Regions from separate parts of the Homo sapiens genome. Here regions 1, 3, 4, 5, 6 and 7 are each linked to region 2. Evidence: promoter capture Hi-C in 16 types of primary human blood cells and fetal thymus (Javierre and others, 2016). All regions are on one chromosome and are shown on one strand. The core of a region is centred on a gene start or on the middle of the fragment in contact, and the rest is flanking DNA. Distances in the headings are between cores, read along the strand shown. Region 1 overlaps LOC124901282 (a long non-coding RNA gene). Region 2 holds the start of GMNN (geminin DNA replication inhibitor). Region 3 has its middle 150 kb from the start of RIPOR2. Region 4 has its middle 130 kb from the start of RIPOR2. Region 5 overlaps GPLD1 (glycosylphosphatidylinositol specific phospholipase D1). Region 6 has its middle 130 kb from the start of CARMIL1. Region 7 has its middle 170 kb from the start of RIPOR2.

The links. Contacts are between HindIII fragments. The CHiCAGO score rates a contact against its expected background, and 5 or more counts as called.
Region 1: a fragment that was not itself captured here is called in contact with the fragment with the promoter of GMNN in region 2 in 2 of 17 cell types (neutrophils and naive B cells); the score reaches 6.0 in neutrophils.
Region 3: a fragment that was not itself captured here is called in contact with the fragment with the promoter of GMNN in region 2 in 12 of 17 cell types (non-activated CD4 T cells, total B cells, naive CD8 T cells and 9 more); the score reaches 12.5 in non-activated CD4 T cells.
Region 4: a contact is called between a fragment that was not itself captured here and the fragment with the promoter of GMNN in region 2, in 9 of 17 cell types (neutrophils, non-activated CD4 T cells, M0 macrophages and 6 more). The highest score is 12.0, in neutrophils.
Region 5: a contact is called between a fragment that was not itself captured here and the fragment with the promoter of GMNN in region 2, in 11 of 17 cell types (total B cells, neutrophils, naive B cells and 8 more). The highest score is 13.0, in total B cells.
Region 6: a fragment that was not itself captured here is called in contact with the fragment with the promoter of GMNN in region 2 in 8 of 17 cell types (neutrophils, activated CD4 T cells, total B cells and 5 more); the score reaches 10.0 in neutrophils.
Region 7: a contact is called between a fragment that was not itself captured here and the fragment with the promoter of GMNN in region 2, in 1 of 17 cell types (activated CD4 T cells). The highest score is 6.2, in activated CD4 T cells.

What each region holds. Positions count from the first base shown.
Region 1 is chr6:25,128,025-25,130,724 of GRCh38, forward strand. All of the region lies in intron 2 of LOC124901282 (a long non-coding RNA gene), which reads left to right. It also overlaps the pseudogene CMAHP. Among named protein-coding and RNA genes, the nearest start is that of CARMIL1, 150 kb to the right of the region's middle. The HindIII fragment of the contact is 6,422 bases long and covers 1-2,700 here.
Region 2 is chr6:24,773,601-24,776,379 of GRCh38, forward strand. It overlaps GMNN (geminin DNA replication inhibitor), which reads left to right and starts at 1,337. Exons shown (of 7, transcript NM_015895.5): 1 at 1,337-1,644. RefSeq lists an enhancer at 2,252-2,331. The HindIII fragment of the contact is 2,242 bases long and covers 258-2,499 here.
Region 3 is chr6:25,087,909-25,090,694 of GRCh38, forward strand. It overlaps the pseudogene CMAHP. Among named protein-coding and RNA genes, the nearest start is that of RIPOR2, 150 kb to the left of the region's middle. The HindIII fragment of the contact is 2,127 bases long and covers 453-2,579 here.
Region 4 is chr6:25,064,436-25,067,135 of GRCh38, forward strand. No RefSeq gene overlaps it. Among named protein-coding and RNA genes, the nearest start is that of RIPOR2, 130 kb to the left of the region's middle. The HindIII fragment of the contact is 888 bases long and covers 954-1,841 here.
Region 5 is chr6:24,427,342-24,430,041 of GRCh38, forward strand. GPLD1 (glycosylphosphatidylinositol specific phospholipase D1) reads right to left here. Exons shown (of 25, transcript NM_001503.4): 25 at 1-1,777. The coding sequence ends at 1,691. Among named protein-coding and RNA genes, the nearest start is that of MRS2, 26 kb to the left of the region's middle. The HindIII fragment of the contact is 4,577 bases long and covers 1-2,700 here.
Region 6 is chr6:25,144,668-25,147,367 of GRCh38, forward strand. No RefSeq gene overlaps it. Among named protein-coding and RNA genes, the nearest start is that of CARMIL1, 130 kb to the right of the region's middle. The HindIII fragment of the contact is 1,781 bases long and covers 494-2,274 here.
Region 7 is chr6:25,105,876-25,108,575 of GRCh38, forward strand. It overlaps the pseudogene CMAHP. Among named protein-coding and RNA genes, the nearest start is that of RIPOR2, 170 kb to the left of the region's middle. The HindIII fragment of the contact is 3,413 bases long and covers 1-2,700 here.

The DNA.
Region 1 (2,700 bases), core at 14-2,513, 350 kb after region 2:
CTGCTTCCTCATGGGCAGGAGAGCTAAGAGGGGAGGACTAATGTGTCAAGAGAACAGGTCAATCACCTGTAAGGCTTTGAATGAAGAAGAGAAAGGCTAGTCTGTGGGAAAGCAATCACTATACTTAGATGAGCATATTAGATACAAAAACAATCTGAGTTCCTGTAAAAAAGTCCCTCTGTATAAGCTACACAAGAAGCTCATTGCAGAGAAATAGTAACTATAATTCACTTTTTTGAGGTGCTTGCCATATACCACCATATGGCATTCTTTTAAGTTTTATGTGTTTGGCATCACTTAATCCTCTCAGCAACCTGACAAAGTAGGTAATATTTTCATCCTCATTTTAGAAATGAGAAGACCGAGGTCCAGAAAGGCTAAGAAACCTGTCGAGGGTTATGACCTAGCTAGTAAGTCGTGGAATCAGGCTTCTAAACCAGGTAGTCTATAAGGAGAGATGATGCTCTTAATCAGTAAACTTTAAGGCCTCCTTAAATGGCTGGCTAAGTGGCACTCTGTGAAATGGCCCGCTAAGTTAAAAAACTAGGAGAGGAAACCCAGAGACAGAGTCCCAAAGCTGTAATAGTTGGAAGAGAAAACTCCAACACCTTGAAGTGCTGGCGGAAGTTTACCAGTGACAGAACTATGTCTGAGGCTTCACTGACTTGAATCCACCCAGAAGATGGAAGAACATCAAAATGGGCCATCAGGGAATTACTTAGAGGTTCTCCTAGAGCAGAGTTGCCAGCTAAAAGGGTGTCCCATTAACTACTTTGGACATATTTATACTAAAAATACATTAGTTTTTTTAAATCTGAAATGCACATTTAACTGGGCATCCTGTATTTTTATTGGTCAAGCTGGCAGCCCTATCTGAGGAGCCAAGCAAGCTACAGGTGCAATACTGGTGTGAAAGGAAAATATCTTGGGCCCCCCAAATCGCTAAGCTAAAAGGGAAAGTCAAGCTGGGAACTGCTTAGGGTAAACCTGCCTCACATTCTATTCAAAGTCACCCCTCTGCTCACACTGAGATAAATGCATATCTGATTGCCTCCCTTGGAAAGGCTAATTAGAAACTCAAAAGAATGCAACCAATTATCTCTTATCTACCTATGACCTGGAAGCCCCCTCCCTGCTTCAAGTTGTCCTGCTTTTCCAAACCGAACCAATGTTCATCTTACATATGTTAATTGATGTCTCTTGTCTCCCTAAAATGTATAAAACCAAACTGTGCTCTCACCACCTTGGGCATATATCATCAGGGCCTCCTGAGGTTGTGTCATGGCCAAATGTCCTCAACCTTGGCAAACTAAACTTTCTAAATTAACTGAGACCTGTCTCAGATTTTCAGGGTTCACATTTTGGTAACCATGAAGGGATTCTGAGTGGAGATGCCCCTGACCTTTGACAAATCTATGCTTGGTACCAGCATGAGCTAACTTTATGGCTCAAACCAATAGGACAATTTGCTGAGGCCTGAGAGCACCCCCTCCAGAGAATCCCTGATGTCCCCAAATGTGGTAGAGATCTAAAGTTTATTTTGCTGGAAAAAAAAAAAAAAGCAAGTAAAATTCCAAAAAAACTTTTACTTGCTTCCAAAAAGGAAGGGAAGATTTCCTGTTTCCATGGCTATGGAAGACAGGTAACTCTTTTATGGAGTTTGAGCTCACTTCCAACAGGGAAGATGAGTTTTTTTTCTCTCTGCTTCTAGTATGGTAGAGAGCAGTCTACACCCTGAGACCCATCCCTAGCTAAGTAACTGAATTGGGGTTTGTCTTGGCTAAAGTTAAGATTAACAACCAGCTGGTCTTAATTTCTCCTTACTATTAGAGTACTCAGTAATGATATAAGTTGTGTGATTGTTTTGCTTAACTGTTTTTGTTGTTGTTGTTGTTCATTCCTGTTTTCACTGTTGTTTTGGACTTTTTCCCATTGGGTTTGATCAACTCTATCCAACTTGATCAAATCCAAAGGAAATTCCAAATTATGGGGAACAAGGCCTCTGAAGTGGCTAAATTCTCACACACACACACACACACACACACACACTCACGCACACACGTGGTATGGGGTGGAGGGGAAAAAATGGCCAGAAAAAGGAAAAAAAAAAAAAACAAAAAGAAAAATTTTTTATTCTAAGGGTCTTCATTTACATAACAAGGCCACCTTTTTGTTAGCCAGGCCAAACTGAAAGAGCAATGGCTGTACTTCTGAAATAGCAGCAATTTGTCCTAGCTGAAATATGGTAATGAGATTTTAAAAGTTTTTTTTTAAGGAGCTCAATGGTTAAAAGTCAGCTTAATTAAAACCTAACATCCAAGATGCGTGCGTGTGTGCGCACGCGCGCACGCATATGTGTGTGTTTGTATTTAAAAGGACTTCATGTTTTTGTTTTTCTCCTGGGACCTTGTCTTTTTTTTTTTTTTTTTTTGAGCAAAAGTTTTTTTCTTTTCAGTTGACAGAATTCTGTTTTCTTCATTTACTTCTACTATCTCTCCTTTCTCTTGCACCCTCTGCTGCATGGAGGACCTAAAATAGTTTATAATAGCCTGGGGTTCCTTAAAGAAAATGGAGAAGGCACCAGACTCCCTTTCCAGGGAAAACAAATTTTTTCAAGAATGTAAACAGACAAGTTTGTCTCAGTTCTCGAACAGCTTACTTTTGTATTGTGTTACTTTTTTTTTTTTTGACTAAAATAGT
Region 2 (2,779 bases), core at 87-2,586:
ACTAGCCTCAGCAGTTATCAACACAAGGCCAATACTGTTTTATTCGCACCAGTGGTTCTCAACTGGGGATGATTTTGCCCTGCGGAAGGTTATCTGACAAGGTCTGCAGACATTTTTGGTCTTCACAATTGGGATGTACTCCTGGTAGCTAGAGGGTAGAGGCCAGGGATACTGCTAAACAGCATACAATGCCCAGGACAGCCCCCACCACGAACAATTTGCCCAGTCTAAAATGTCAATAGAGCCCATACTGAGAAAGCTTGATTTATACCTTTTCCCTTGCTTCTCTCAATAATTATTTCAAATAAAATATATGGTATAAAATTTCATCTGTAATTACCATTTATAGGTAGAAGCTATTACAATAAAACCCACAATATTGTCATTACAACTAATCTCTTTTTTTAACCCATTGCTCATCAGGTAACCTTAAACAACTCATATCTTACCATCCCAAAATATTCAGTCAGTGTTCAAATTTCCCTTGGGTATTTTTTTAAATACAGTGTTTAGTTCAGACGAGATCCATACATTGCATTTGGTAATATGTCCCTTATTTGTACTCGATAACGCCTTCCTTCTGCTTTTTATTTTTAAAATATTTTAAAATTAATTTTTTTTTGAGACAGGGTCTCCCTTTGTCTGTAGTCCCAGCTACTCGGGAGGCTGAGGCAGGAGAATCGCTTGAACCCGGGAGGCGGAGCTTGCAGTGAGCCGAGATCGCGCCACTGCACTCCAGCCTGGGTGACAGAGCGAGACTCCGTTTCAATTAAAAAAAAAAAAAAGAAGGAAAAGGCTAGACGTAATTATTACCAAGGTGTTTCTGCTCCTTCAAATTGCAACAGCAGTTGTAATTTCAGTGCCTAGAACAGTAGTAATTGGCACGTATAAGGCGCTCAATGAATAGCTGCAGGATTAACTGATAATCGGTTGTCTCCTGAACAATTCCTACCGCACCACACCATAGTCAAAACACAAAAAGCCAAAATATAAAAGCCCCTAATACAACTACGAGTCCGTGGAGCCAGGGCTTTACACAAATATATGTCGTGTACTACATATTAATATATATGCACATACAATATTTTGTTCTTCTGGTGCTAACGACTAATGGAGGCAAATCTTTCTCCCTTTCGTAAAGGGCTAAAACTTTGCATTTTAAGGAAGTTCCAAGAGCAGGGTCGGAGGGGAGGGTCAAAGGGCACAGGCCTCCCAGCCCGCAGAAAACCCCCACGGTCCTCAAGTACTCGCTACCGTTGACCGCGCAGGCGCAGGAAGGGGCGGGGCCGAGGGAAGAGGCGATTCGCGGGATCCAGAGGCCCCGCCCCTCGTCTGCGTCAGTTGGTCACGTGGTTGTTCGGAGCGGGCGAGCGGAGTTAGCAGGGCTTTACTGCAGAGCGCGCCGGGCACTCCAGCGACCGTGGGGATCAGCGTAGGTGAGCTGTGGCCTTTTGCGAGGTGCTGCAGCCATAGCTACGTGCGTTCGCTACGAGGATTGAGCGTCTCCACCCAGTAAGTGGGCAAGAGGCGGCAGGAAGTGGGTACGCAGGGGCGCAAGGCGCACAGCCTCTAGACGACTCGCTTTCCCTCCGGCCAACCTCTGAAGCCGCGTCCTACTTTGACAGCTGCAGGGCCGCGGCCTGGGTAAGGGCGAAGGGGTTGTTGAACGGTCGCGGGAGCCGGGGCGGGGTTGGGAGGTGAGTCGAGGGACTGCCCCATTGGCTGGGTCGGTTTTGGCGCGCTCTCACTTCCGCGCTTCCTATTGGCTGGCTGGCGCAGTTCCCGAGGCGCGCGCCGCGGTTGGTAGGCTCGGACGCGCGGGGCCACACTGCCCGCCCCCTAGCCTGGCGCTGGGCCTCCGGGACAAGTTGGCTGGGTCCGGGCTTGGGGACTGCAACGCGGGTAAGGGACTCAGCCTGGGCTTGCCAGCTGTGGGGATGAGGCGAAGCATCCATCCTCTTGGCAGTTAAGTGGCTGGTCCTGATCTGAGGGATCTGCAAATTTGGCTCATGGAAAGAGGTGGCTGAATTCTGCGTCTCCCATTAAACGGATACTGGCGTTGTTGATACGGGTTTCGCATGGACCCTGTCCTGTGCCAGGGTTTTTAATCTAGCTATTAAAGGAACTGGAGAATAACAAGTAAGGGTTGCAAGGTCGCTGACAGGCGTGGGAAACTTGTGAAGGATTAGAATGCTAAGTGGCTTTCAGCTTTTTTCACACTAAGGTACGTTTTACGTCGCAACCTAGGACACAGCTATCTAACCAAATGAGACGTGATGGAAGCAATGTTTCTCGTCTCTTCAATTCCATTCTGTTCAGTTGCATTTTTCTAAGCAGTGTTGCTCATGACTCACTAATTTCGAGATCACGGCCCGCGACCCGCAGTTTGAAGAACATTGCGTAGGGTCTGTTTACTGGGGCCCGAACACCATTTTCTTAACATGAAATAGAGTAGAAAATAGCAGGATGCCCGCACAAATTAGATTGTTTTGTTTTCTAAGCTTTTTTTTTTTTTGAGACGGAGTCTCGCTCTGTTGCCCAGGCTGGAGTGCAGTGGCAGGATCTCGGCTCACTGCCACCTCCACCTGTCGGGTTCAAGCGATACTCCTGCCTCAGCCTCCCGAGTAGCTGGGACTACAGACGAGCACCACCACGTCCGGCTAATTTTTGTATTTTTGGTAGAGATGGAGTTTCACCATATTGGCCAGGCTGGTTTCGAACTTCTGACCTCAGGTGATCCGCTTGCCTCGACCTTCCAGCACTTTGGTGATCATGCAGG
Region 3 (2,786 bases), core at 266-2,765, 310 kb after region 2:
CAAACATAGGGCAGAGTTTTGCTAATAGAGGTTTAGAAACATGATTCTACAATTTGGTCAGGTTAAGGTCGGCCTGGCTAAGATGCAGTACCAGGACCTGGTTCCTCCCAATGCAGGGTAAATGGCCTTTTTTGGCCTTTTAGCTGGGAGAGAAGCACACAGGAGAATTGGAAGTAGATTTAAGAAATATTTGGGGTGTAAAATGGAAAGGTCTAGATGACTGATTAGATTTGGGGATGTAAGGAAAAGGGAAGAACCAAAGATTACTCATTTGTTTCTAGCTTGACTGACTTGGGGAATGATATTACCAACGATCAGATAGAAAAAGGAAAAAGAACATTTTAAAGAAGGAAGATGAGGAATTGAACTTTGAACAAGTTGAAAATTATGTATTAAGCATTCAGAAATTCAGACAATTATATCTAGCAGGCAGTTGACTATTAAGAACCCAAAGCTTGACAGCACTGGAGGTAGCCAGAGAGCGCTCTGGGCTGGACATATGGATTATTTTTGGAGTCATTAACAGAGAAGTGATGTTAGCAGGTGAGTTTACCCAGGAAGAGACTTGGGAAGAACAGTGGAATGAACACAGAGTCCTGGAAGGAAACAAGAGACTTAAGCAGTGGCTGGGGAAAGAGGAACTCCAAAAGAATGCAAAAGAATATTCAGGAAAACAAGGAGGTACTGTCACTGGGCTAAGGAGAAGACTATTGGTTCACAATGACGGACAAATTGCGTGCATAACCTATCTCCTCTGCATTTCCAGATCCAACTAAAATGTTGCAAAGCAATTATACAGGAATAAACTGCCACATTGAAAAGAAAAGGAAGTGATTCATTGACAGGAGAATTCAACTAATTACGTGAATCTAGAAAGCATGCAGACAAGTGGAAACCGAAGATGCAGGGCAGAGGCTGTACAATCCCAGACAGTACATGGAGGGGTGTTCAGATGTGGAGGGAAGAGAAGTAGGTACTGCGGATGACAGGAGGGCAAGCACAAAAGTTATGTCCATGAGATAGCTGGCCCCTTCTCTACCCCTATATATGGCTCCCAGGTCAAATATATTTCTACAGTTCTCTCAATACATAGAATCAATTTTGGGGTAGGGGGAGAACAAGGGCAGGTAGTGTGTTTGTGATGCTGAAAGCAAGAGCCTCCACATTTTTGCACTCGGGGGTCCCCTAGCTGGCTTCTCTCCTCACCTTCACAGCTTAAAGCATACTGATGATCCTTTGGCCAAATACAGCCTAGCTCTCATTTCATGTAGTCTATAACTCTTTAAGAACATTGACTCAGCTTTCTACATTTATAACTTTGGGTATTTCACATGAAAATCCAGATTTCCAAGTTCTCTGGAAATTTCAGATCAGCCGGAGCTCAGCAGGCCTGCCCCCTTCTCATCCCGCATTCTACTTGATGCAGTCTGCCCCAGCTTCACCAGTTTATGAGATGTGCCTTGCACCAGTGTGCGAGCCCTCTGTAAGTAGAGCCTACTGGATGACAGATCCTACACCTATACATAAGAGCCCCAAATCAGCTGAAAAAAGTCTTTTTATCAGTAAATATGGACTAATCCTGTAATTCTTAAAAGTCACCCACAAAGAAAGGAGGATCAAGCTAGCATAAGTTTTCTTTAGAGCAACCTTGTCTATAACTGGAAGCCAAAGGAGCAATGCCTTCCGGTGTCTATGGAAAATGATTAGTCACCCAGAATTACATGCTGAAACTTACTTACACACCATGAGGCAGGAGACAGTTAAGCAGAAAGTCCCACATAGAAGTGAAGCAAGGAAGGGAAAGGCATGGGTGGGGTCTGGAGGCAGTGAAAGGTAGCAGATTTGCAGCAGAGCTAGAGAGGAGCCCTTCCAGGTCGGAGCAGGAGGATGGAGAGCTACAGGAGCCATGCATTTAAGAATGGAGAGTTAGTGTGATAGAAATGATGAGTTTGAAAGGCAATTAATACCTCCAAAAAGGTGGCAGGAGGGAGGCAATATGAGAAGTCTCCGGGTAGCAAGAAAAGGAGCTCTTCCACACATAGGCATAACCTCTTTAACCAAACCTCAGCATATAGAACTCTCCCTAAAATCCTGGGAGATAAAAGCCCTCAAGCCACAGTATAACAGTACCATGTGCAGAGCAGGCATCATGATTTTGCCCCATGGTGTATTTAAATATGCAACAGAGCTGCTGCTTGCTTTATCCAGCAGATGCATTATGGAAAGCTGTGAAAAAGTGATTTTTTTTCCAAATTAAATATTTTAAATGAAGTTATTTAAAAATTTTCAAAGGTGAATCTCTTGAGGCTAAGAAACCTCAATTTATAGGTTTTGTAAATTCAGATTTGAAAGGCTACACAGTGGCTAAGAGCATAGACTTTGAGCTAGACTGCTTGAGTTAAAGCCCCGCATCACCATTCATTAGCTGTATAACCATGGGCAAGTTATTCTAACTCTTATAATCCCAGTTTCTTCCCCCACAAAATGGGGGCAGATAGTAGTATCTGTTCACAGGGTTGTTGTTGGATTAAATGTCTTAACATTTCCAAAGTGTTTAACACTGTGCTTGGCATAAAGCAAGCTTGGTAAGTATTTGATATATAAAGCAATAAATGTAAAGATTTATTTTGTCTAAAAAGATGTAAGCCTATTTATCATCTATACGGTGCCTCACACAGGATTTTCTTACCTGTAAAAATCCAGTTTTTTTGTTTGTTTTTTGAGACCGAGTTTTGCTCTGTTGCCCAGGTTGGAGTGCAATGGCATGATCTCGGCTCACTGAAACT
Region 4 (2,700 bases), core at 148-2,647, 290 kb after region 2:
ACCCCATACCATAGCCAAGCATCTGAAGCCAGGAAGAATTGAGAAATTATGGAGGGGAGAATTTCAAGGAGAAAAGGTTGAGGTTTAAAGCAGTCAGCCATGAGGGGTAGGGGAAAAGTCCCAGTGTACAAGACATGGCTGTTGACAGTCTGTGAACAGGACCAAGGAGGCAGCGGATGATGAGAACATGCTGCTCTACCACTTATGGGTAGAGTGGGCATATAATTGTTGGCCAAAACCAAGACCTTTTGAGAGCGAGAGGGCACTGTTAATAATTGTACCGGGAAGACTGCAATAAACCAAGACTGGTTTGGGCATACCAGAACACAGGGTCACTCTAACTAGGGCTACTAACAGTAGGGCTAGGATTGTTTTCTGATAGCAGTGATGGCTATGCATGGATTCATCCACAGCCCCTCCATCCATCATCCTTTTGGGGTTGCAGGATGGCTGGTGAGGAATGTATTAACTAGCCTTGGTCTTTGTAGCCCTGTGCTCTAACCAACAGAGTTTATCTCCAGACACAGTAGAGTCAGGGGACAAAAGATACAATTTCAATAATTAATTAACTTATTTAATTAAACCAACCATTAGCTAAGCAAGGCAGTATAGCAGAGTGGTTAGTGAATTTCACTTTGAGGTTTAGCTCTCAGTGATGTGACTCGGCACGATACTTAATTTCTATGAGTCTCAGGCTTCTGATCTGTAAAATAGGGACAAGAGCAAACACTATCTGAGCTTTTACTTTGTTTTGGGTGCTGGGCTAAGCACTTTATGTGGATTATTTAATATCATCATAACCTTATGAAGCAGGAACTATCATTATCTCCATTTTGTAGACCAGGGAACTGGAGCTCAGTGGGACAGAGTAACTTGCTTGAGGTCAGACCATCAGTAAATACCAATTCTACAGGGGCTGTTTTTGGTGATTAAATGAGACAATGCTTATTAAAAGCTTAGCATATTCCACCTAATTAAATTGATTAATTGTGGCCCCTTTTATGCAAAGTTCAATATTAGACCCTTTCTTTCTTCCTTTTTTTTTTGAGATGGAGTCTCACTCTGTTGCCTAAGCTGGAGTGCAATGGCACAATCTCGGCTCACTGCAACCTCCACCTCCCGGATTCAAGCGATTCTCCTGCCTCAGTCTCTGGAGTAGCTAGGATTACAGGCATGTGCCACTACGCTCGACTAATTTTTGTATTTTTAGTAGGGACGGGGTTTCACCATGTTAGTCAGGCTGGTCTCAAACTCCTGACCTCAGGTAATCCACCCGCCTCGGCTTCTCAAAGTGCTGGGATTACAGGCATGGGCCACCAGGCCTGGCCATCTTTATTCTTATTAAACATCCTTCCTTGGAAAAAGAGGATGTATTATTGTGACTTACGTGTGTTGACCAAAAATAAAATGAGTCACACATCTGAAGTCTGATGGCACTGGGGCAGTCTGCAACATTCAAGGGTTTTTCTGATCCCTGTACTCTTGTGTCTTCTGCTGAGAACAGAGATGTATATATTCATGTTAGTAGGAGAAAATAGGTTTAAGCCACTTTTAGTAATTGAGATGAATGTTTCATATAAAGGATGGCTAGCAGCCACAATGCTGGGTGGGGAGAAAATGGCCAAATATTTAATATTTGAAATCAAATTACTTCAGATCTGAATTCTGGGCCCCCCACTATTGTGGCTCTGGGCATGTTACTGAGCCTCCTTGAGCCTTCGTCTATAAAATGGGTTGAATAATACATATCTTTCAGAGTTGCTATGAGGATTAGAGATAATATATGCAAAACAGTCACATAATGGACACTCAATAAACACTAGTCATCATGACTGTTAAAAAGCTTAGCATGGCCAGGTGCGGTGGCTCAAGCCTGTAATCCCAGCACTTTGGAAGGCTGAGGCGGGTGGATCACTAGAGGTCAGGAGTTTGAGACCAGCCTGGCCAACATGGTGAAACCCCGTCTCTACTAAAAAATACAAAAATTAGCTGGGCATGGTGGCAGGCGTCTGTAAGCCCAACTACTCAGGAGGCTGAGGCAGGAGAATTGCTTGAACCCGGGAGGCGGAGGTTGCAGGGAGTCGAGATCACGCCATTGCACTCCAGCCTGGGTGACAAGAGTGAGACTCCATCTCAAAAAAAAAAAAAAAAAAAAGCAAAGCATATTGACTGAAAGCCAGTAGAAAGCCCAAATGTAAGTCCTTAATAATAATTTAACATTCAGTATTACTGTTTTCTTACATTTGTAATTTGGATACTTTGGATCATATTTCCAACCCACCACATGTCAGGAGAACCCTCTGAATGAAATCCTTTAATACTCTTTAATATCCTAAGAGAGGACAGCATTGTTGACATGACCCATCTCTGAAAGCCCCAAGAATCTGAAACATCCAGGCTGTTCTTGCTGCAGCTGGGAAAATAAAATATCCACATGTATACTTAAACCCAGTTATTTTATTTTATTTTTTAAAGTGTCCTAAGTGGAGAAAAAGCAGCAGATACAGGATGGAGAGGGAGAATTCCTCCTAAACCAATTCCGAATTCCTCCTAAACCAATGCTTGTGTTTTGGGAACTTATTTCCAGGCCTCCTGAGCCCTTCCCCTCCCACCTAGCCACTCTCATGTCTCCAGAAATGCCTTTAGCATTGCAAAGCACAGGTTTTGTGGGCACACTGGGAGTATGCTACGAACTTGCAA
Region 5 (2,700 bases), core at 177-2,676, 350 kb before region 2:
TTTTCCCTCTAGTTCTTTTGGCACAAGTTGTAACCTAATGCGACAAAGGTCCCTCATGAGATGGCTTAAAACTAGCAGTGTCGCTAGGCTCTTTAGGTGTTAGAACAGCCAACTCTACAAAAGTATTGGAGGGCACAGAAGGGTGATAGTCTTGGTTTTTATATTTGTCCTTCACTATATAAACATTGAAAAGGTATTAATCCTCATTAAGAAAGGATTATCGGCCAGGTCCTGTGGCTCACACATGTAATCCCAGCACTTTGGGAGGTCAAGGTGGGTGGATCACCTGAGATCAGGAGTTCGAGACCAGCCTGGCCAACATGGTGAAACCCTGTCTCTACTAAAAATACAAAAATTAGCCGGGCGTAGTATTGTGCACCTGTAGTCCCAGCTGCCTGGGAGGCTGAGACAGGAGAATCACTTGAACCTGGGAGGCGGAGGTTGCAGTGAGCTGAGATCACATCACTGCACTCCAGCCTGGGCAACAGAGCAAGACTCCGTCTCAAAAAAAAAAAAAAAAAAAAAGGACTATCATCCTTAGCAAACTAACACACGACCAGGAACAGAAAACCAAATACCAAGTATAGCATGTTCTCACAAGTGGGTGCTAAGTTAAAAGAACTTATGAACACAAAACAACACACACTGGGGTCTACTTGAGTGGGGAAGGTGGGAGGAACAGAAAAGATAAAACCTTCACATGTACCACTGAACCTAAAATAAAAGTTAAAAAGGACTAAGTCACAAGTGATTTGGAATGTGAGGTTATCCCTCACCCCCATGCTTTACTCTGTACTATTTTTCCTCCCTCAGTTTCTTTTTTTTTTTTTTTTCTGTATACTATGCTTTCTATTATACTTTGATTGGCATGGGCCAATCTGTTATTTTTAAGTTCAACTTTTTTTTAACTTTTAAGTTCAGGGGTACATGCGCAGGAAGTGCTGGTTTGTTACATACATAAAGGTGTGTCATGGGGGTTTGTTACACAGATTATTTCATCACCCTAAGTATCCATTAGTTATTTTTCCTGATCTCTCCCTCCTCCCACCTTCCGCCCTCTCATAGGCCCCAGTGTGTGTTGTTTCCCTCTATGTGTCCACGTGTTCTCATTTAGCTCCCACTTACAAGTGAGAATATGGAGTGTTTGGTTTTCTGTTCCTGCAATAGTTTATGAAGGATAATGGCCTCCAGCTCCATCCATGTCCCTGCAAAGGGCATGATCTTGTTCTTTCTTTATGGCTGAACAATTCTTTTTTTAAAAAAGGATGTTTTTAGGAGGAATTGTGTACAGAGACTGTTCTAACAGATAACCACAGAGGGACCTTTCCAGCCATTGGAAAGACATTCAAGAGGAAGAGGAAATAGGTTGTACAGCAGGTCTGACTACAGGCAATAAGTTGGGAAAGAAGAAAGGTTTAGATGCAAAGGGAGCGAGGAAGTAAACTGTGGAAGGAGACATGAGTAAGCAGAATGTCTGCTATTTCACATATTTCTGGTGCAGTCATATATTTACTGTATCAGATTTCCAGAGGGTGTGGCTGTTAGTGTGTCTCTCTACTCCCAGGAGCCCCATGTCTATCAGGATCTACCACCGCTCCACTGGATGTGCCACTTTGTCCATCAAAATGCTCACCATGGATGTGATTCAGCATGAGAGAGGTGGGCAGAGTGGGGAAATGCAGTGAAATCTTCAATCTGAGCCAAGGCTATAGACGTGAAGTGCCCCGGAGAGTCGGGCTCCCAAAGAACTCCTTCCAGCAGCAATGACGACTTGGTTCTGTAAGGGACACAAGACAGAATTCATGGCTCATTCATAACATCTATTGAGTTCCTATGGTAGTCCAGGCATCATGCTATGCTCTAGAAATATAAAGATGAATAAGACACTGGCCAGATCCCCTGGCTTGAACTCAAATGCCACTTTCCCTTTGTTTACAGACCGCTTTCTCACATCTATAAGTTCTGAAAACCGCAGCTAAGGATGCTCACCCCAATCCCTATTCTGGCACATAAATCATAAAGGAGAAGTAGGGCAGTGCATGCTTAGTTCTGGTACAATGTGGAAAACATATCTTGAATAGTAAGGACTTCCCCTAGAAGCTGGCTTTGTCAATGTGTTTAGCGTACCTCCCACCTACCCTGCTGCTTAAAACATTTTAGGACCCATCTTTCAGAATTGCCTTCAAAACCTGCTGCAAGTTTTTAAAACATTTTCTTCTTTTTTGAAACAGAGTCTTGCCCTGTCACCCAGGCTGGAGTGCAGTGATGTGATCTCAGCTCACTGCAACTTCTGCTTCCTAGTTTCAAGTGATTCTCATGTCTCAGCCTCCCGAGTAGCGGAGATTACAGGCATGTGCCACCACATCTGGCTAATTTTTGTATTTTTAGTAGAGACGAGCTCTCACCATGTTGGCCAGGCTGGTCTCGAACTCCCGACCTCAAGTGATCCACCCGCCTCGGCTTCCCAAAGTGCTGAAATTACAGATGTGAGCCACCATGCCTGGTCTTTAAATATTTTCAGTGGTGGCAAATCTTCATACTCCGAGGTCGGATTTGATTTGTGGAAACTGACAAAAGTTATTCTGAACCAAAGCTGGCACATGAGGTACGGGTGATCAAACTGGCTGACAGTATTTTGGTCAGAGCAGGATATGACAGTTTCTTATTTAATTTTGAAAACTACTGATGAAATCTAGAAAT
Region 6 (2,700 bases), core at 134-2,633, 370 kb after region 2:
ATGCCTGTAATCCCAGCACTTTGGGAGGCTGAGGCAGGTGGATCGCCTGAGGTCAGGAGTTCAAGACCAGCCTGGCCAACATGGTGAAACCCCGTCTCTACTAAAATACAACAATTAGCCAGGCATGGTGGCCTACGCCTGTAATCCCAGCTACTTGGGAGGCTGAAATAGGAGAACTGCTTGAACCCAGGAGGCGGAGGTTGCAGTGAGCTGAGCTCATGGCACTGCACTTCAGCCTGGGTGACAGAGTGAGACTCCATCTCAAAAAAAAAAAAAAAAAATTAGCCAGGCATGGCAGTATGCATCTATAGCCCTAGCTACTTGGTAGGCCAATATGTAAGTATCACTTGAGCCCCCAGTTCAAAGCTGGGGTGACCTATGATCACACCACTGGACTCCAGCCTGGGAGACAGAGCAAGACCCTGTATCTTAAATAAATAAATAAATTAATTAATTAATTAATTAAAACATCTACAAAAAATGAGAAAGTAGAAGCTTTCTTACTAAGATAAGGACAAGGCAAGGATGTCGTCTCTCACCACTGCTTTTCTACATTGCATTGAAAGTTCTAGACAATAAAATAGGGCAAATAAATAAATAAGTGGTATACAAATTGGGAAGAAAGAAGTAAAACTGTTTTTGTTCACAGATAACATGATTGCCTATGTAGAAAATCTGAAATAATCAATTCTTAAATGTGGGCTGCACATAGAGACTTCCTTTCATAGAGACTTCCTTTCAAAGAGTACAGTATGGAAATGATGAAAAAAAGAGTAACTTTAACAGTAAGGAAATGTGACAATCCGTCAATATCAACGGTGATAAATTATGTTAGAATGTAACTTTAATATGATGTGGTCTTCCTCCTGCAAACCCATAATCCCAGTCTAACCATGAGAAAAAAAATCAGATAAATTCCAGTAGAGAGGTAACCTATAAAATACATGGTCTGTACTCCTTGAAACTCAAGGTCATCCAAAACAAGAAAAATCTAAGTAAATATTACAGCCAAGAGAAGCCTAAGGAGACATGATAGCTCCTTAGCTAATGTGATGTGGTATCTTAGATGTAACCCTGAAACAGAAAAAGACATTAGGTAAAAGTAAAGAGACCTGAATAAGCTACTCAGCACATTAAGGCAAGAAAAAAAAAAGTCAAACACATAAGGAGTGGAAAGAAAAAAAATCATTTTTGAAGATACTTAGAACTGACTGTATACATAAACATTCAGAAGAACCCACATATAAATTATAAGACTCTGAGAGTTTAGTACAGCTGTTAGATATATAATCAATAGTTTAAGAAATCAATTTATTCTCACATCAGCAATAAAAAATACAAAAATTGAATTTAAAAATATATCATTTAAGATAGCAGAAAAGGCTGAGGTGGATCACCTGAGGTCAGGAGTTCGAGACCAGCCTGGCCAACATGGTGAAACCCCGTCTCTACAAAAAATACAAGATTAGCCGGGTGTAGTGGCACATGCCTGTAATCCCAGCTGCTCAGGAGGCTGAGGCAGGAGAATTGCTTGAACCCGGGAGGCAGAGATTGCAGTGAGCCGAGATCGTGCCATTGCACTCCAGCCTGGGCAACAAGAGAGAAACTCCATCTCAAAAAATAAATAAATAAATAAAAATTAAAAGATAGCATAAAAAATGAAATATCAAGAAATACATTTAACAAAAGATGATCTCTTTGGAGAAAATTATAAAACTCTATTGAGAGATATTAAGTGTATCTATAAACGAAGAGTTATATTATGTTCATAGATAGGAAGCTCAATATTATGAAGATAATCAATTTACTCCAAATTTATCTGTAGATTTACTATAGTCTCAATAAAACCCCCAGAATTTTTTTTTTTTTTTTACAGCTTAAAAACTTACTCTAAAATTTATTAAGATATGCCAAGGGCCAAAAAGAGAAAAAACATTCTTCAAGAAGAACAAGGTGGGAGATGAGAGAGGATTTGTCCTAGCAAATATCAAGACTTATTGTAAGCTATAATAATTAAGATCATATAGTGTTGGCTCAGTGGTAGATAAAATAATCAAGGGAACAGGATAGAGGCCTGGAAACAAGTCCACATATACACCAACACTTGATAAGTGACACTGTAGATCACTAGGGAAAGGATAAATGTTTCCACTAAACTTGCTGGGGTAACTGGGATCCCATATTGGAAAAATAGATTGGACTCTTTCCTTATTCCATAGATAAAAATCAATTTCAGACAAGTTAAAAGACTTACATTTAAAAGATAAACAATCAAGCTTTTGGAAGGTATTTAGGAGAAATTTTTTATAATCTTGGGACACGGTGGATTTTTTTCAACAAAACACAAAAAGCTCTACCCAAAAGGAAAATTATTGCAATTTTAGATTACACCAAAAGAACATATACACCCCAAAACACAATAAAAGAGTAAAAAGGTAAGACACATAATGAAAATTTGCAACATAAATATGACAAAGGATTTCTATGCAGAATATAGAAGAATGTCTATAAATCAATAAGAAAAAGACAATCTATAAGAAAAATGGGCAAAAAGGTTTGAATAGGTACTTCATAAAATAGAATATCCAAATTGTGACTAACTGTATAAACAGAGCTCAGCCTCACTAGCAATGGGGAAGTGAAAATAAAAACCACAATGAAGTACCACTATACTTACCAGAACAACTAAAATTAAAACAA
Region 7 (2,700 bases), core at 50-2,549, 330 kb after region 2:
CTATTCTGGAATGCAGTATGGTATAGAGAAAAGAGCTTTAGAACTAAGCATACCAGGGTTCCATTCTCAACTCATGTTTCCAACAGGGTGACTTTGGGCACGTCCCTTGACCTTTCTGAGTTTCAGATTCCTTATCTGCAAAAAAGGAACAATACCCCCTTCCTACGCATAGTGCTATTGGGAGATTAACTTAGATGGCTTAGTTAAAAGTCCCCAGTTCACTTCACATAATAAATGGCAGTTGCCATCCTCTTTCCTGGGATCCTTTCGGAGAATATCTATCTGTTATTTTATCTCCTGAAAGAGTTCCTGGCTGCCAAGTGTAACTTTTATTCATGCTCTGGGTTCTCCAGCAGCTTGTTAAAAAGTTCCAGACACCTACTAATCACTTTCCTTCTCATGTCACACTGCTTTCACAGCAAAGTCGCTCATTCCACCATACGTTAAGTTGTATGTAAAAATGTACAAAGTGTCTAGCCATACTTGTCTGATGGGTGAGATTCCACAAAATACCCAGCAAAGGGACAATAAATTCGGGGTTGCAGGTTCTTCACCAGCCGAGCCTTGTAGTTCAGGAGCTTCTTCCTTTCTGTTTTAATGAATTGGGCTTTCCATTCCTCTGAAATGACAGGATTTAGATTAGAGTCTCCTCTGCTGGAAAAATCACAGAAAAACACATGTTCTAGCAGATTGGAACTCTTTCAGGAGATAAAATTGATAGGTAACTAAGGCAGAAATAGAACAAGGCTCCATGTCATTAGTGGAGGATTTCCCCGGAGTTTTTATCTTGGAAATTTCAATTGGTTACTAGGAAAATGTTACCAAGCCAGCCAAAGGCACTGAGCTTTCTCCTTGTATATGGCAATTCATTCGGACCCTAGCTGAATACACAGGGTAGGATGCATAATCGTAGTTGGTGTGCATGCACATTTTAAGGGCATTGTAATTCTTGAAATTAACTCTTTACTAACATGAAAATGGCTTCATTATATTTGTAGATTATAACAGGTGTGTTCAACATAATCTGACAAATACACAGTGATTAAGAGCATGACGTTGGAGTCAGTTAGGTTGAAAATCCTGACCCACCACTTACTGGTTGGGCAGCCTTGGGCAAACTACCTAACTTCTCCATGTCTGTATCTTCTCTGTAAATGGAGTCATGATGCCCCTCTCACAGTGCCGTTCATTTGCTTATTCATTCACGTAACCAATATTTATTGTGCACCTACTCTGTGTCAGACGTGGTTCTAGCCACTGGGAATAAAGTGGTGAACAAGGCAAAGCAGGTCCCTGCTCTCATGGAGTGTTCATTCTAGTGAGAGAAGCAAATAATGAACAAGTAAATAAAGTCATTGCAAAGAATGATGCACCGTGAAGAAAATAAAACAGGGCAATGGAACAGAGAGTGGCTGGGGTGAGTGGGATGAGATGGAGGGAATCATTAGACAGGATGGTCAGTGAAGAGGTGACATTTGAGTTGAGACATAGATGAAAAGTTGCTGGTCACATGCAAATCAGGGCCAGCTGCACTCCAGGAAATGGAAACAGCAAACACAAAGACCCAGGGCAGGTGTGCACTTGACACTTTGGGTCTAAGAAACAAAAAGCAGGATGGGCTGATATATAGCAAGCATCAGAGTGACAGGCAGTGAAGGAACTTGAGGAATTAGACAGGACGCAGAACATACAGGGTAGAAGGTCAGAGAGCTGTTACTGTTATTGTTTCTATAAAATTTGACAAACACAGACAAGGATACAGAAAAAATATACAAGCTACCCATCACCTAGACATAATATTTTGGTATATTCAAGACCTTTTTAAATGTATATGTGTGTACTCACGCACATGTGCACACACACACAAACTCACCATCACACAGAATGGCATGATGCTAGTTAACCCTTAATAAGTATGTTTTACCTTCCCAGTCACACTTTTAACTTCTTAAGGACAGAACCTTCCCTCTATTTCTCATGTGGTTACACACTCCGGGAGGCAATGAATATAGACTTAGAGAAGAAAGCAAAGAACGGGACAAAGGTTATCTTCATATTGCAAAGCAGGGCATTTTCTGCCACACTGTTAGACAGGGATCACTTATCAGATACATTAATTTATTAAGTGGACATGTATTGAGCACTTACAATACTAGTGTTGAGGATACACACTTCCCCAATGTCAACCCCAACCCCACTCTTGGACCCAGAGCAGAAGGGCTCCTGCCTAAGACCCCCAACCAGAGGACCCTCCTCTGGGTGCACTAGAGGTCCCCAACTAGAGGACTCTCTTCTGGGCACACTGCTCCCTGATATGAGCATCCACAGTGCCAAGGGGATGTGTCTACATTGAGGCTGCACACACCCCATTAGGAACCATATTCCAAGAGCACCTAAGCCTGGATGACCCACTTCAGGCCTTTCCTGTTCTGCTCTACGGTCTACATGGTGAATCCAGATGATTCTCTTTCTTGGCTCCTCCTGAGGTGCTCTCAGATCTCAACATTTCCTTCATGCTCCATCATGTTTTGAGCTAGAAACCTTAGTTGGTAATCTGCAACTTACAAATCTGGTTTCCCAATAAGATTGCATGCTTCTTGTGGGGAGGGATCATGTCTCAATTACATTTGTATTTACTCTTACAGCATTTAGCAATGTGCCATGCGTGATACTTGGTATCACTTTCATACAAAATATTAC